Linked DNA regions of Homo sapiens: region 1 is linked to region 2. Evidence: promoter capture Hi-C in human tissues and cell types (Jung and others, 2019). All regions are on one chromosome and are shown on one strand. The core of a region is centred on a gene start or on the middle of the fragment in contact, and the rest is flanking DNA. Distances in the headings are between cores, read along the strand shown. Region 1 has its middle 36 kb from the start of RAB7A. Region 2 holds the start of CNBP (CCHC-type zinc finger nucleic acid binding protein).

Region 1 (6,587 bases), core at 2,351-4,850, 490 kb before region 2:
CATTTTCCTGGGGTGACACAATGAACAAACAAATACGTCAAGTGGTAGTAAATGTTAAGAAGAAGACAAAATCAGGATAAGGGGATAGAGATGCAGTTGATACTTTAGAGAAGATGGTCAGAAAAGACCTCATTGAGTTGGTGATACTTGATCTGGGACCCCAAGAGAAGAGTGCTTCTGGCAGAAAGAACAAGTATAAATTCCTCGACATGGGAATGTGCTTGGTATGGTTGAAGAAGAGCATGATGAGGCCAGATGCCTAAAATTGAATGAAATCAAAGAAGGCGTATGAACTAGATCATGTAGAGCCCCGTATGCTAGGATAAAGAGAGTGATTTATTTAAGTAAAATAAAGGTTACTTGGGGGGAAAATGAAAAAATAAATACATAATTTTAAAAGATAGTGGTTTTTTGTTTTGTTTTTTTGTTTTTATGAGACAGGGCCTATATTTGCCCTAGGCTGGAGTGCAGTGGTGCAATCTTGGCTCATTGCAATCTCTGATTCCAAGGCTCAAGCAGTCCTACCTCAGCCTCCTGAGTAGCTGAGACTACAGGCGTGTGCCATCATACCCAGATAATTCTTTTTGTATGTTTTTGTTTTTGTTTTTGTTTTTTTTTGAGACAGATTCTCGCTTTGTCACCCAGGCTGGAGTGCCATGGCACGATCTCGGCTCACTGCAGCCTCCACCTCCTGAGTTCAAAAGATTCTTCTGCCTCAGCCTCCCGAGTAGCTGGGACTACAGGTGCACGCCACCACGCCCAGCTAATTTTTGTATTTGTAGTAGAGACAGTTTCGCCATATTGTCCAGGCTGGTCTCAAACTCCTGACCTTGTGATCCACCCGCCTCGGCCTCCCAAAGTGCTGGGATTACAGGTATGAGCCACTGCGCCCAGCCTGTATTTTTAGTAAGAGATGGGGTTTCACCATGTTGCCCAGGCTGGTCTCAAACTCGGCTCAAGCGATCTGCCCCAGTCAGCCTCCCAGAGTGCTGGGATTATAGGCATGAGCCACCAGGCCTGGCCAAGATAGTGATTTTTTAAAATTTAGTTTTAATTTTTTTTAGAGATGAGGTCATACTATGTTGCCCAGGCTGGTCTCCAACTCCTGGGCTTACACAGTCTTCCCACCTCAGCCTCCTAAATCATTGGAATTACAGGCGTGAGCCACTGCGCCTGGCCTGGATAGTGATTTTTAAAAGATGAGAAACTTCAAACTTCTCAGCAGAGGGTGACATATCTGGATTTAGGTTTCTTAAAGACCACTCAAATAAGTTATAAAATCTACATATGTGGTGTTTTGATGTATACTGATCCACGTTTCCTGGCGCATACTCTATAGCGTTTGTTACAGTCTTTTGTTACAATGCTGGGTATGTTAGGCCTCACAGCAGGCCTCTGACCTTCTCCTGCCCTCCTTCCACTCTAATGTTCTCCACCTCTCTGATTGTGGGTCTTCAGACCCTCCCATGAGAAGGTCCCACCTTATATATACTCTGAAGGAGGAAGGAATGCTGATGGCAAGAAGCTTCCATAAAAATCCAAGATAGGCCGGGCGCGGTGGTTCACACCTCTAATCCCAGCACTTTGGGAGGCCAAGGCGGACAGATCACGAGGTCAGGAGATCGAGACCAGTCTGGCCAACATGGTGAAACCCCGTCTCTACTAAAAATACAAAAATTAGCCAGGCGTGGTGGCAGGCGCCTGTAATTCCAGCTACTCGGGAGGCTGAGGCAGGAGAACAGCGTGAACCTGGGAGGCGGAGATTGCAGTGAGCTGAGATCACACCACTGCACACTCCAGCCTGGGTGACAGAGCAAGACTCCATCTCAAAAAAAAAAAAAGATTCTGGAGTTCTGGTCTGGACTTGCCACTGGTGTTGGGGGAGAGGGTGGTCTTGGAGAATGAGCAATCAACCTGTGAGATCTGACACTATCAGATAGTGTCGGAACTGAATTAGAGGACACCTACCTGGTGTCCACTGCTTGATGTGTGGGGAAAACCCCCTACACATTTGGCCACAGAAGTCTTGATGTTGATGATTGTTGTCATGTGAGAGTAGAGGAAAGATGTGGTTTACAGGGTGTTTTCACTACACAATACACTCTCAAAGACATAAAAGTAAGAGCTGGCTAGGCGTGGTGGTTCACGCCTGTAATCCCAGCACTATGGGAGGCCGAGGCCGGTGGATCACCTGAGGTCAGGAGTTCAAGACCAGCCTGGCCAACATGGTGAAACTCTGTCTCTACTGAAAAAAAATAGCCAGGTGTTGTGATGTGCGCCTATAATCCCAGCTACTCGGGAGGCTGAGGCAGGAGAATCGCTTGAACCCAGGAGGCCGAGGTTGCAGTGAGCCAAAATCGCGCCACTGCACTCCAGCCTGGGCAGCAGAGCAAGACTCCGCCTGAAAAAAAAAAAATATAAGAGCTAAAACTATAAAAATCTTAGAAGCAAGGATGGAGGGAAAGCTTCATGATTTTGGATTTGGTGATGATTTTGTGGCTATGACACCACAGGCACAGGCAACAAAAGAAAAATAGACAAACTGGGGCCGGGTGTGGTGGCTCACGCACTTTGGGAGGCTGAGGCGGGTGAATCACCTGGGCTCAGGAGTTCGAGACCACCCATGGCAACATGGTGAAACCCCATCTCTACTAAAAATACAGAAAAATTAGCTGGGAATGGTGGCGTGCTCCTGTAGTCCCAGCTACTTAGGAGGCCAAGGCGAGAATCGCTTGAGCTCTGGAGGAGGAGGTTGCAGTGAGCCAAGATTGCATCACTGCACTCCAGCTTGGGCTACAGAGTGAGACTCTGTCTCAAAAAAAAAGACAAATTAGACCTCATTGAAATTAACTTTTGTGCATTGAAGGGTTGGAAAGCTTTGATACATTTCCTCACCAATCATAAAGGTCATGGCCAACATGCCTATGACAAAAGACAGAATTACAAGAGAAAATAATAACAAACTTATTTACAACATTTTACACAATACAGGAGCTTCTGGAAATGAAGACCTAAAGACCAAGGGAAAACTATTTGTATGCTTAGGTTGAATGAAGAATGGACAGCCATGTAGAAATATGATTGGACAAAAAGGGTGTGATCTAATAGTAATACACTGAGGGGAAGAAACCCAGTAAGGTTCAAATTCTTCTTGGTCTCTCAGTGTAGCATTTCTTTGCCCTAGGTATCGGCAGGACTCTTCTGGAATGAGGGTCTTCAAGGGAGAAGAGGAGAGTAACCTCGCTTTTTTTTTCTTTCTTTTTTTTTTTTTTTTGAGACAGTCTTGTTCTGTCATCTAGGCTGGAGTGCAGTGGCATAATCTCAGCTCACTGCAACCTCTGCCTCCTGGGTTCAAGCAATTCTCCTGCCTCAACCTCCCCTGCCTCAGCCTCCTGAGTAGCTGGGACTACAGGCGTGTGCCACCACGCCCAACTTTTTTTTTTTTTTTTTTTTTTTGTATTTTTAGTAGAGACGGGGTTTCACCATGTTGGCCAGGGTGGTGTCGAACTCCTGACTTCAGGTGATCCGCCCATCTCGGCCTCCCAAAGTGCTGGGATTACAGGAATGAGCCACCGTGCCCAGCCTAGACAGAGTAACTTTTCTAGGTTTTGTGGCTAGCTCTGGGGGAGTGGGATTCTAGTTACTACAACCTGCCTTGGGAAGAAGGGTTCTGATTCTCACTTCAGTGGAGAAAGAGGGATGGGAGATAGGAGGGCAGGAGAAGGTCAGAGAGAGACTTTGCTTCTGGAACCTTTCAGTCTCCTTTAGTTCAAAGCACTCAGCATGCTAAAGCAGCATACTTTGGGGTATCATTTTCTGAGCCTGAACAGCATCAAAGAAAAACAAAGGGTTCTGGTATATTTATGGGAGGCCATTGATTTGGTTTTTTTGTTTGTTTGTTTTATGAGACACGGTCTCACTCTGTTGCCCAGGCTGGCGTGTAGCGATGCCATCATGACTTACTGCAGTCTTGACCTCCTGGGCTCAAGCGATCTTACCACTTCATCCTCCCCGGTAATTGGGACTACTATTTTTTTGTAGAGAAGAGGTTTCATCATACTGCCCAGGCTATTGTTGAACTCCTGAGCTCAAGGGATCCTCCCACCTCGGCCCCTGAAAGTGCTAGAATTACAGGTGTGAGCCACAGTGCCTGGCCAAATGGAGGCCATTGATTTGTACTGAGCTCCTCCTACACTAGGCCCCTACAGGCTGACCCAAAATGGAGTCACTCATGCTAAGGTTCCATGTCACCAAACTGAAACCTAAGCTGTTTGCTTATAAGATCTGACCTTAGGGCTGGGCGTGGTGGCTCACGCCTGTAATCCCAGCACTTTGGGAGGCCGAGGCGGGTGGATCACTTGAGGTCAGGAGTTCGAGACCAGCCTGACCAACATGGTGAAACCCCATCTCTACTAAAAATACAAAAATTAGCTGGGTGTGGTAGTGCATGTCTGTAATCCCAGCTACTTGGGAGGCTGAGGCAGGAGAATTGCATGAACCCAGGAGGCAAACGTTGCCGTGAGCTGAGATCGTGCCACTGGACTCCAGCCTGCGCAACAGAGCAAAACTCTTGTCTAAAAAAAAAAAAAAAAATCTGACCTTCTGAGAAATCAGGAGAGAGGCAACAGTCAAATCCCCAATAGGTCAGTTTTACAAAAAAATAGATTCACAGCAACCAATCAAAAGGGGCCCATTCAACCTAAGCTGCTTGATAAGGAAGTCCCCTCTGCTTTAAGCCATGCAAGGAAAGTAACCCGAAGGAACCTAATGTTAACCAATCCACTTTTTTTTTTTTTTTGAGATGGAGTCTCGCTCTGTAGCCCAGGCTGGAGTGCAGTGGCGCAATCTCGGCTCACTGCAACCTCCGCCTTCCGGGTTCACGCCATTCTCCTGCCTCAGCCTCCCAAGTAGCTGGGACTACAGGCGCCCGCCACCAAGCCCGGCTCATTTTTTTTGTATTTTTAGTAGAGACGGGGTTTCACCATGTTAGCCAGGATGGTCTCGATCTCCTGACCTCGTGATCTGCCCTCCTTGGCCTCCCAAAGTGCTGGGATTACAGGCATGAGCCACCGCGCCCAGCCAACCAATCCACTTTTTCCACTATGCTGTTTCCTTGTTCCTGGTCAAGCTGCCTGCCTTAGAAAAACCTACTGCTCTGCCATGCCTGGTAGAGCTCCTGTCTATTTTGTAGGCTGGATGTTGCTCAGTTCATGAATCACCAATAAAAGCTAATTAGATCTTTATTTTTTTTACAGACAGTGTCTTGCTCTGTCACCCAGGCTACAGTGCAGTAGTGCAATCCTAGCTCACTGTAACCTTAAACTCCTAGGCTCTGGTGATCCCCCCACCCCGGCCTCCCAAAGTAAGGAGATTACAAGCATGAGATACCACATCTAGCCAAATCTTTAAAACTCAATGTGTTGAAATTGTGTTTTTGACACAACACACAGAATAGGAGAAAATATTTGTGAATCATATATCTGATAAGAGATTAATATCCAGAATGCATGCAGAACTCCTAAAACTCAACAACAGAAAACCCATTTTCAAAATAAGCAAGGGTTGCACAGCAATCTGAACATACTTAATATCTGTGTGAGATAGAGGAACAAACCTAAGTGATTTTTCCTACTCTTACCCAGTCACTCAACACTGCCAACAGCAGATATGCGGGGGTTATTTCCCCACACACCAAACATCGATTCTGCGGATTCCCCAGTAGACATCAGCTGGGTGTCCTCCAGTTCAGTTCTGACACCATCTACCTGGAGATAGTGTCAGATCCCACAGGTTGAGGGCTCTAGTCCCACAAGGCTGCCCCCCACTTCAGATGCTGCAAGCACGGGTCGTGGTCTGTGCTTCTGACCAATTGGCTATAAACTGGGGCTCCCAGGATTTATTTAATTGGCTAGTGTGGCTCACAAGACTCAGGGAACCACTTACTGATGTATACTGGTTTCTTATAAAGGATATTACAAAGAATACAGATGAACACTGTAATCCCAGCACTTTGGGAGGCTGAGCGAGGCAGGCAGATCACCTGAGGTCAGGAGTTGGAGATCAGCCTGGCCAACATGGCAAAACCCCGTCTCTACTAAAAACATAAAAATTAGCTGGGCATGGTGGCATGTGCCTGTAGTCCCAGCTACTCAGGAGGCTGAGGCATGAGAATCGCTTGAACCTGGGAGGTAGGGGTTGTGGTGAGGCAAAATTGTGCCACTGCACTGCAGCCTGGGCAACAGAGTGAGACTCTGTCACAAGCAAGCAAACAAACAAACAAAAAAACAGATGAACAGCCAGATGGACGAGATGCCCAGGAAGAGGTGTGGGGAAGATGCACAGAGTTTCTATGCCTTCTCTAGGCATGCCCCTCTCCAGGAATCTGCCTGTGCTCAGCTGTTGGGAAGCTCTTCTGAACCCTGTCCTTTTGGGTTTTTAGGGAGGCTTCATGACCTACACAACTGACTAAATCATTGGCCTTTGGTGATCAACTCAGCCTTCAGCTTCTCTCTCCTCCCCAAAGTCAGGGGGCTGCTGAAAGTTCCAACCATCTAATCACAGGTTGGTTCCCTTGTCAACCAGCTCCA
Region 2 (6,332 bases), core at 2,721-5,220:
AACCCAGGAGGCAGAGGTTGCAGTGAGCTGAGATCCTGCCATTGCACTCCCGCCTGGGCGACAGAGCAAGACTTTGTCTCCAAAAAAAAAAGAAAAGGAAAAAAAAAGTTAAGTGGTAAAGTACACAAAAATGCTATCGTAATATATGACAAAAATGCTATTGTGTAATATTTTTAAGGTAGGGAATTATACCAATTCAATCTCTACTTCAAAATATTACATAAAGGTATTACTACTATATATCTAGTAACTAAGAAAAAAAAAAGCCACGCACATTTGAATTGTAATGCTGTAAGTATTCATTCTGTATTTCTCTTTAGATAAAAATCAAAGTAAAACTAATACTGATAGCTTTTTAAAAGATCTACAGTCATAATAATTTTGAATTCATTCACACAGCTTTCTTGAATCTTAAAAAATATTTTCTTTAACTTCATGGCAGAACTTAGGAGTCTCACCAAACACACAAACACTGGCAACTTGCTTCACTAGTTAACACCTCATTTGTATTTATGGAGCCATTCCAGGTGATCACTGTAGCACTCTCATATTCCTAATTAACAAAATCCTTCTAATTACAACTTAAAATTTGGTGGCCTCAAGTTCTCACTTTATTATCTCAGTAGTTTTAAACATGAAAATGCTGCATAGCTTACTGCAATCACTCAATGGCATTCCCTTGCTGCTGCAGCATCTGACACTGCCAGAACAGGAGTTCTATTAAGTGAGACAGTAAGGAAAGAGCGTTCTCCACATAGCAGGCCAGGATGCCTTGGCATCATTCTTCTGGCTCTCTACTTACTGTCAGGAGGCTAGGAAGAGAAAAAGGAACCAATCTTTTTTTTTTTTTTTAATTTTTCATCCCTGCAAGGAAAAAAAAGCAGAATCTCTCTGTGGTCAAATCTTCAGCCAATAGACAAATCATTCCAATTAGTCCAATGGTGGTTTCACTGCTTTTAGGCACCAGTTTGGTACTATCCCATATACGTGCCACATATTTTTATTGAACTTTAAAAGACAAGTAGAATTGTTGGCAAGGCACGGTGGCTCAGGCCTGTAATCCCAGCACTTTGGGAGGCCGAGGCGGGTGAATTACCTGAGGTCAGGAGATCAAGACCAGCCTGGCCAACATGGTGAAACCCCGTCTCTACAAAAAATACAAAAATTAGCCGGGCGTGGTGGCACACGCCTGTAATCCCAGCTACTTGGGAGGCTGAGGCAGGAGAATTGCTTGAGCCCGGGAGATGGAGGCTGCTGTGAGCCGAGACTGTGCCACTGCATTCCAGCCTGGCCGACAGAGAAAGACTCTGTCTCAAAAAAAAAAAAAAAAAAAAAAAAAAAGACAAGTAGAATTGTCATAAATCATGTAACAAAACACATTTATACTTTAAAAAAGACATCTCCCTGCCTGTTCCAGATGTTCAAATGCCAGTTTAAGAAAAACCTGGCCAGGCGCGGTGGCTCCTGCCTGTAATCCTAGCACTTTGAGAGGCCGAGGGAGTCGGATCACAAGGTCAGGAGTTCGAGACCAGCCTGGCCAACATGGTGAAACCCCGTCTGTACTAAAATACAAAAACTAGCTGGGTGTGGCGGCGGGCGCCTGTAATCCCAGCTACTTCGGAGGCTGAGGCAGGAGAATCGCTTAATCCGGGAGGCGGAGGTCGCAGTGAGCCGAGATCGCGCCACTGCACTCCAGCTTGGGCGACAGAGTGAGACTCCGTCTCAGAAAAAAAAAAAGAAAAACCCCTGGTCTTCCACTGATTTGGTTCAAAATATTTTACAGACTGCACCATCTGAAATACATTACCTCTCCTGTTACCAATATGAAAAAAAAGAGGACCTTTGGTTCCTCAGAAAAACACAAACTGTTATTTTTTTAAAGAAAAACTTATCAAGAGATGAAATCGGAAAAACTTAAGTCTTTAATTCTGCCCTTGGGAATGTAATAAATTATTCCTTTTATATTCCAATACACAAAGAACTCTTGTAGACAAGAATCAGGCTCAACAAACTAAAAACAGCATGTACCTAGGATCCTGGCAGTTTACAGGTGTTTGATTATCCTTAACCAGAGTAACTCATTAGAAGCATTTAAAACTATTTAGGAGGGGGGAGGGGGAAGCCCAGGAGATAAGTACTATATCTCTTATCTTTTTGAAACCCTCAAAGCTCTACACTCCAGTTATACTGCTTGAACAAACAAATAACATAAAATTGCTAATTTAAATTCGAATGGAAATAGTAACTGGTTACGTTTCACTCCAAAATTGGGTCAAACAATAGGAAAGGGGGAAAAATCTACTTTTAAAAATGTAATTTAAAAGCAAGATGGGGATATTCATTAGACCTCCTTCACTTTGAGAAAGACAAAAAACAAATTCAGTTTTGGCTTATCTCACCTGAGTCCTTCTGAATAATGCCTGAAACACACTAGCTAAAATCACAGACGATTACTGAGCAATGTTCTCTTTTTACAAGACCCCCAAGACCAGAAACAGTCACTTCCTTTGGAAGTGCCCTGTGGCTGAGGCCATATGGTTAACATGTGGGAACAAGCACAAGCCTTACCCATAATAAAATCAACACCTAAACCCAAATGTGGACCATTATGCCATTCTAAAACAGGTTCTCACGATATGGAAAAATCTAGATGGAGGGGAGCTAGTTGAATTTCGTGTCTCGTTTGTAATTACATCTGTTTCATTAATCCAAGAAATGATGCAGACTACCGCCCGCTGCTGTGGTTTTGGAGGTTTGACAAATTCGTGTTTTTTCTGGTAATGGCGCTTTTAAAGGATCCCAGCAACTTAAATAGTGTTAACTCTTGGAATGTGAGCCCCATCAGCCCCTTTTGGAATGGTAATGTAACACAAGCAACTTAGTATTTAAATGACGATAAAAATTCAAGAATCGGAAAACTATCAAGGATAGGGAGTATAAACTCTAAAAGCTCCCAAGTCTTCCAGCAGTCTCGCCACTCCAAACACAAAGGCTTCTTCAGGAACCCTTTGTTGTTGTTTGTTTGTTTGTTTGTTTGTTTTTTTAAGACGGAGTCTCTCTCTGTTGCCCATGCTGGAGTGTAGTGGCGCGATCTCGGCTCACCACAACCTCGGCCTCCGGGGTTCACGCGATTCTCCTGTCCAGCCTCCCGAGCTGCTGGGACTACATGCGCCCGCCACCATGCCCGGCTAATTTTTTATTTTTAGTACAGACCAACTTTCACCATATTGGTCAGGCTGGTCTCGAACTCCTGACCTCGTGATCCGCCCGCCTGGGACTCTCAAAGTGCTGGGATTACAGGCGTGAGCCACCGCGCCCGGCCTAAGAACCCTTTTCTAAGGCCCCCAAAACCCTTGGCACATGGCCCGCCAGGCGCACGACCCCAGCACATGGCCTGCACGACTATACCCACCCCATCCCCCCTTCATCCGCAGCCGGGAGCCTTTCCCCACCACACGGACTCCTTCCAGTGAGTTCCCGCCAAATCCACCCTCGGTCCCTCATTCCGCGACCCTCGAAGCGTCAGGGCCTCGGCCCCAAGGGCGCACGGGCGGGCCTCCTCTGCCCTAAGCCTGCGGCCTGGGGTGCGGCCGTGGCGCCGAAAGACCCGCATGCTCGGCGACCCAGCTTTCCAGGACGAAGAAAGGACAGAAGTGTCGTCCGACAGCGGTGCGCCAGAAACCCGGGTCCGAGGCGGCGGCAGCAGCCGAGCTTCCCGCCTGACGCAGCAGAGGCGCAGGCCAAAGTGCGGCCGCCATCGCCACCTCGCCGCTCCCTACCCTCTCTGTCCGCCACAGACCCGACCCGCACTGCGGCTCCGTCAGCGCCGGGCCCCTCCCCCAGCCCTCACCTTCCGCGTCGGAGCGGGCCCGCAGCGGCGGAGACTCGGACGCAGGCCTGGGGAAGACGGCTCGCAAGGTAGAGGCTGTTTATTTTGAGGGTCCTTGCCTGCGCCACACGCGGGTCTGCACACGGCCCCACATACGCCGCTGCGCACGGCTCTCCTCCGCCTCGCCCACGCGGCCAATCAGCGCGCGGGGTTCGGCAGTCCAATCAGAGCCGCCCGCGGCAGGGCCGCCCACTAGAGCGCGGCGCGGGGCGGGTGTTTCTGCGCGCAGCGTCTTTTCCCGCCGTGCCCCGCGCGCGGCCTTTCACGCCGGGATCCGGGTCCCGGTGCTTCTCGGTTCATTCCCAGCTGGGTCCGGGCCCGGCCAGACTGGGTGGAAATCTGGCTGACCTTGGTGGTCTGTCTTGGCCAGCTGGAGCAAAGGGATGCCAGGGGACGGGTCTCGGTGCAGTGACTGCCATTAGCTTGGGGCCGCAGAAAGTTTCTCCCCTTTCTCGGGCTCCTGCCAGGCCCTTGGCTTTCAGAGCCAGGCCCGATTTCTAGATAACATTTAAGTTTGCAGAAAAGGGGATGCCAAGTCACGGTGGTCACGGCTGTGGGATGCAGCCTCTGAGATTTGTATTAATTTTTGTGAGCCGGGGAAAGGCCTTGCTGCTTTCTCCGCCAGGACTGATGTGTCTTCCCAAGATGAAAGTGCCTGGTAAGGGCGAGGGGCCTCCCTGGGAAGGTCATGAGCATGTAAGGTAATGGGGCCTAGACTGTGACTTTTGGCACGTTTATGAGTGACATCCCCCGGGAGGGCAAGGATAACCATTTGACCTGGTCTGTCATATTCAGGAATAGACTTCAGTTTAGTTGTGGTATTTTCTCCAAAAGAGATTTGTGTATATAGCCCTAGATAGTCTTGTCAAGATTAAACCCAATTTAAACTGTTAACTATAAAATATTTTAGAATTTTGTCTCATTCTAGAATGGCTTTATTCGAAACAAAAAAAAAGGAAGAGTCCCAAGTTTCGTCTCAGTGAAACCTGCCAGTTCAACACTATGATTTATTTTTCTTTTTTTCTTTAATTTTTTTTTTTTTTAAGAGTAGGGTCTTGCTCTGTCGCTGGGTTTACAGGCATAAGCCACCAATCCCAAATCCCGGGGCTATGATTTTTGAAATCATGTTCGTGAGAAGGCAGAGCACATGTGTTGAGAGTCAGACTTTAAACCTGGGTTCAAATCATTAGTGCTTAATCATTGTAAAGCAGTTAGGAGGTTGCGTTCAACATAGCAATTATCAAAGAATGAATGTATAACTTTAAAGACCAATGATATTTTAAACTTTTTTTTTTTTTTGAGAACGGAGTCTCACTCCGTTGCCCAGGCTGGAGTGCAATGGCACGATCTCAGCTCACTGCAACCTCCGCCTCCTGGATTCAAGTGATTCTCCTGCCTCAGCCTCCCCAGTAGCTGGGATTATAGGCATGCGCCACCACGCCCGGCTAATTTTGTATTTTTAGTATAGGCGGGGTTTCTCCATGTTGGTCAGGCTGGTCTCAAACTCCCGACCTCAGGTGATCCGCCCACCCAAAGTGGTGATCGTCCTCCCAAAGCACTGGGATTACAGGCATGAGCCACCGCGCCTGGCCGAACTTTTTAAATTTATTTATTACTATTTTTTGAGACAGGGTCTCCCTCTGTTGCCCAGGCTGGAGTGCTGTCTCAGCTCACTGCAACCTCCGCTTCCCATGTTTGACCAATTCTGCCTCAGCCTCCTGAGTAGCTGGGACTGCAGGCGCCCACCACCACGCCTGGCTAATTTTTGTATTTTTAGTAGAGATGGGGTTTCATCATGTTGGCCAGGCTGGTCTTGAACTCCTGGCCTCAAGCGGTGCTAGGCCAAAGTGCTAGGATTACAGGTGTGAGCCACTGCACCCAGTGCCCCCAAAGTGCTAGGATTACAGGTGTGAGCCACTGCACTCAGCCTTAAACATTTTTTTAATTAAAGCAACCTAAGGTAAAATTTTTTAACCAAATTTAACCCATTCCCAATCAGATTGAATAAATGCCTAGCAGCTTATGTGTTGTGCTAAAACACGATATATTATCTGCCAATAAAAAACAGTATTTTGTATTTATATAGTTTTATTACCAAGAAGCTTACTCAGCTTTATGATTTCCCCTTTGTAATCTGATTAACCTTCATAGTATCTTGAAGTAATGTATAGTGTAGCAATCAGACACTTAGGTAGTGACTTCGTGAGCTCTGACAATGAGTCAATATAATGCAAGAGGCTATGTATGAAGTCCAACCTGGGTGCGTCCACACCACACCAAGAGGACAAGTTAAAATTACCATATGGCCAAAAATTAATATTTTCTGACTTATTTTTGTTTACCATTCCAACCATAGTACTGTATAAAATGTTTGCTATTCATTATAGACCCAGGAATGGAATATTCCTAATATTAAAACAAAAATTTCAACAGCTATAGAAAA

The links. Contacts are between HindIII fragments. The study calls those that stand out against the background at their distance.
Region 1: a contact is called between a fragment that was not itself captured here and the fragment with the promoter of CNBP in region 2, in 1 of the 25 tissues and cell types used here (spleen).

Annotation. Positions count from the first base shown.
Region 1 is chr3:128,687,232-128,693,818 of GRCh38, forward strand. No RefSeq gene overlaps it. Among named protein-coding and RNA genes, the nearest start is that of RAB7A, 36 kb to the right of the region's middle. The HindIII fragment of the contact is 7,361 bases long and covers 1-6,587 here.
Region 2 is chr3:129,179,926-129,186,257 of GRCh38, forward strand. CNBP (CCHC-type zinc finger nucleic acid binding protein) reads right to left here and starts at 3,971. Exons shown (of 5, transcript NM_003418.5): 1 at 3,851-3,971. LOC105374101 (a long non-coding RNA gene) reads left to right here and starts at 4,149. Exons shown (of 2, transcript XR_924469.3): 1 at 4,149-4,547. RefSeq lists an enhancer at 4,305-4,394. The HindIII fragment of the contact is 21,375 bases long and covers 1-6,332 here.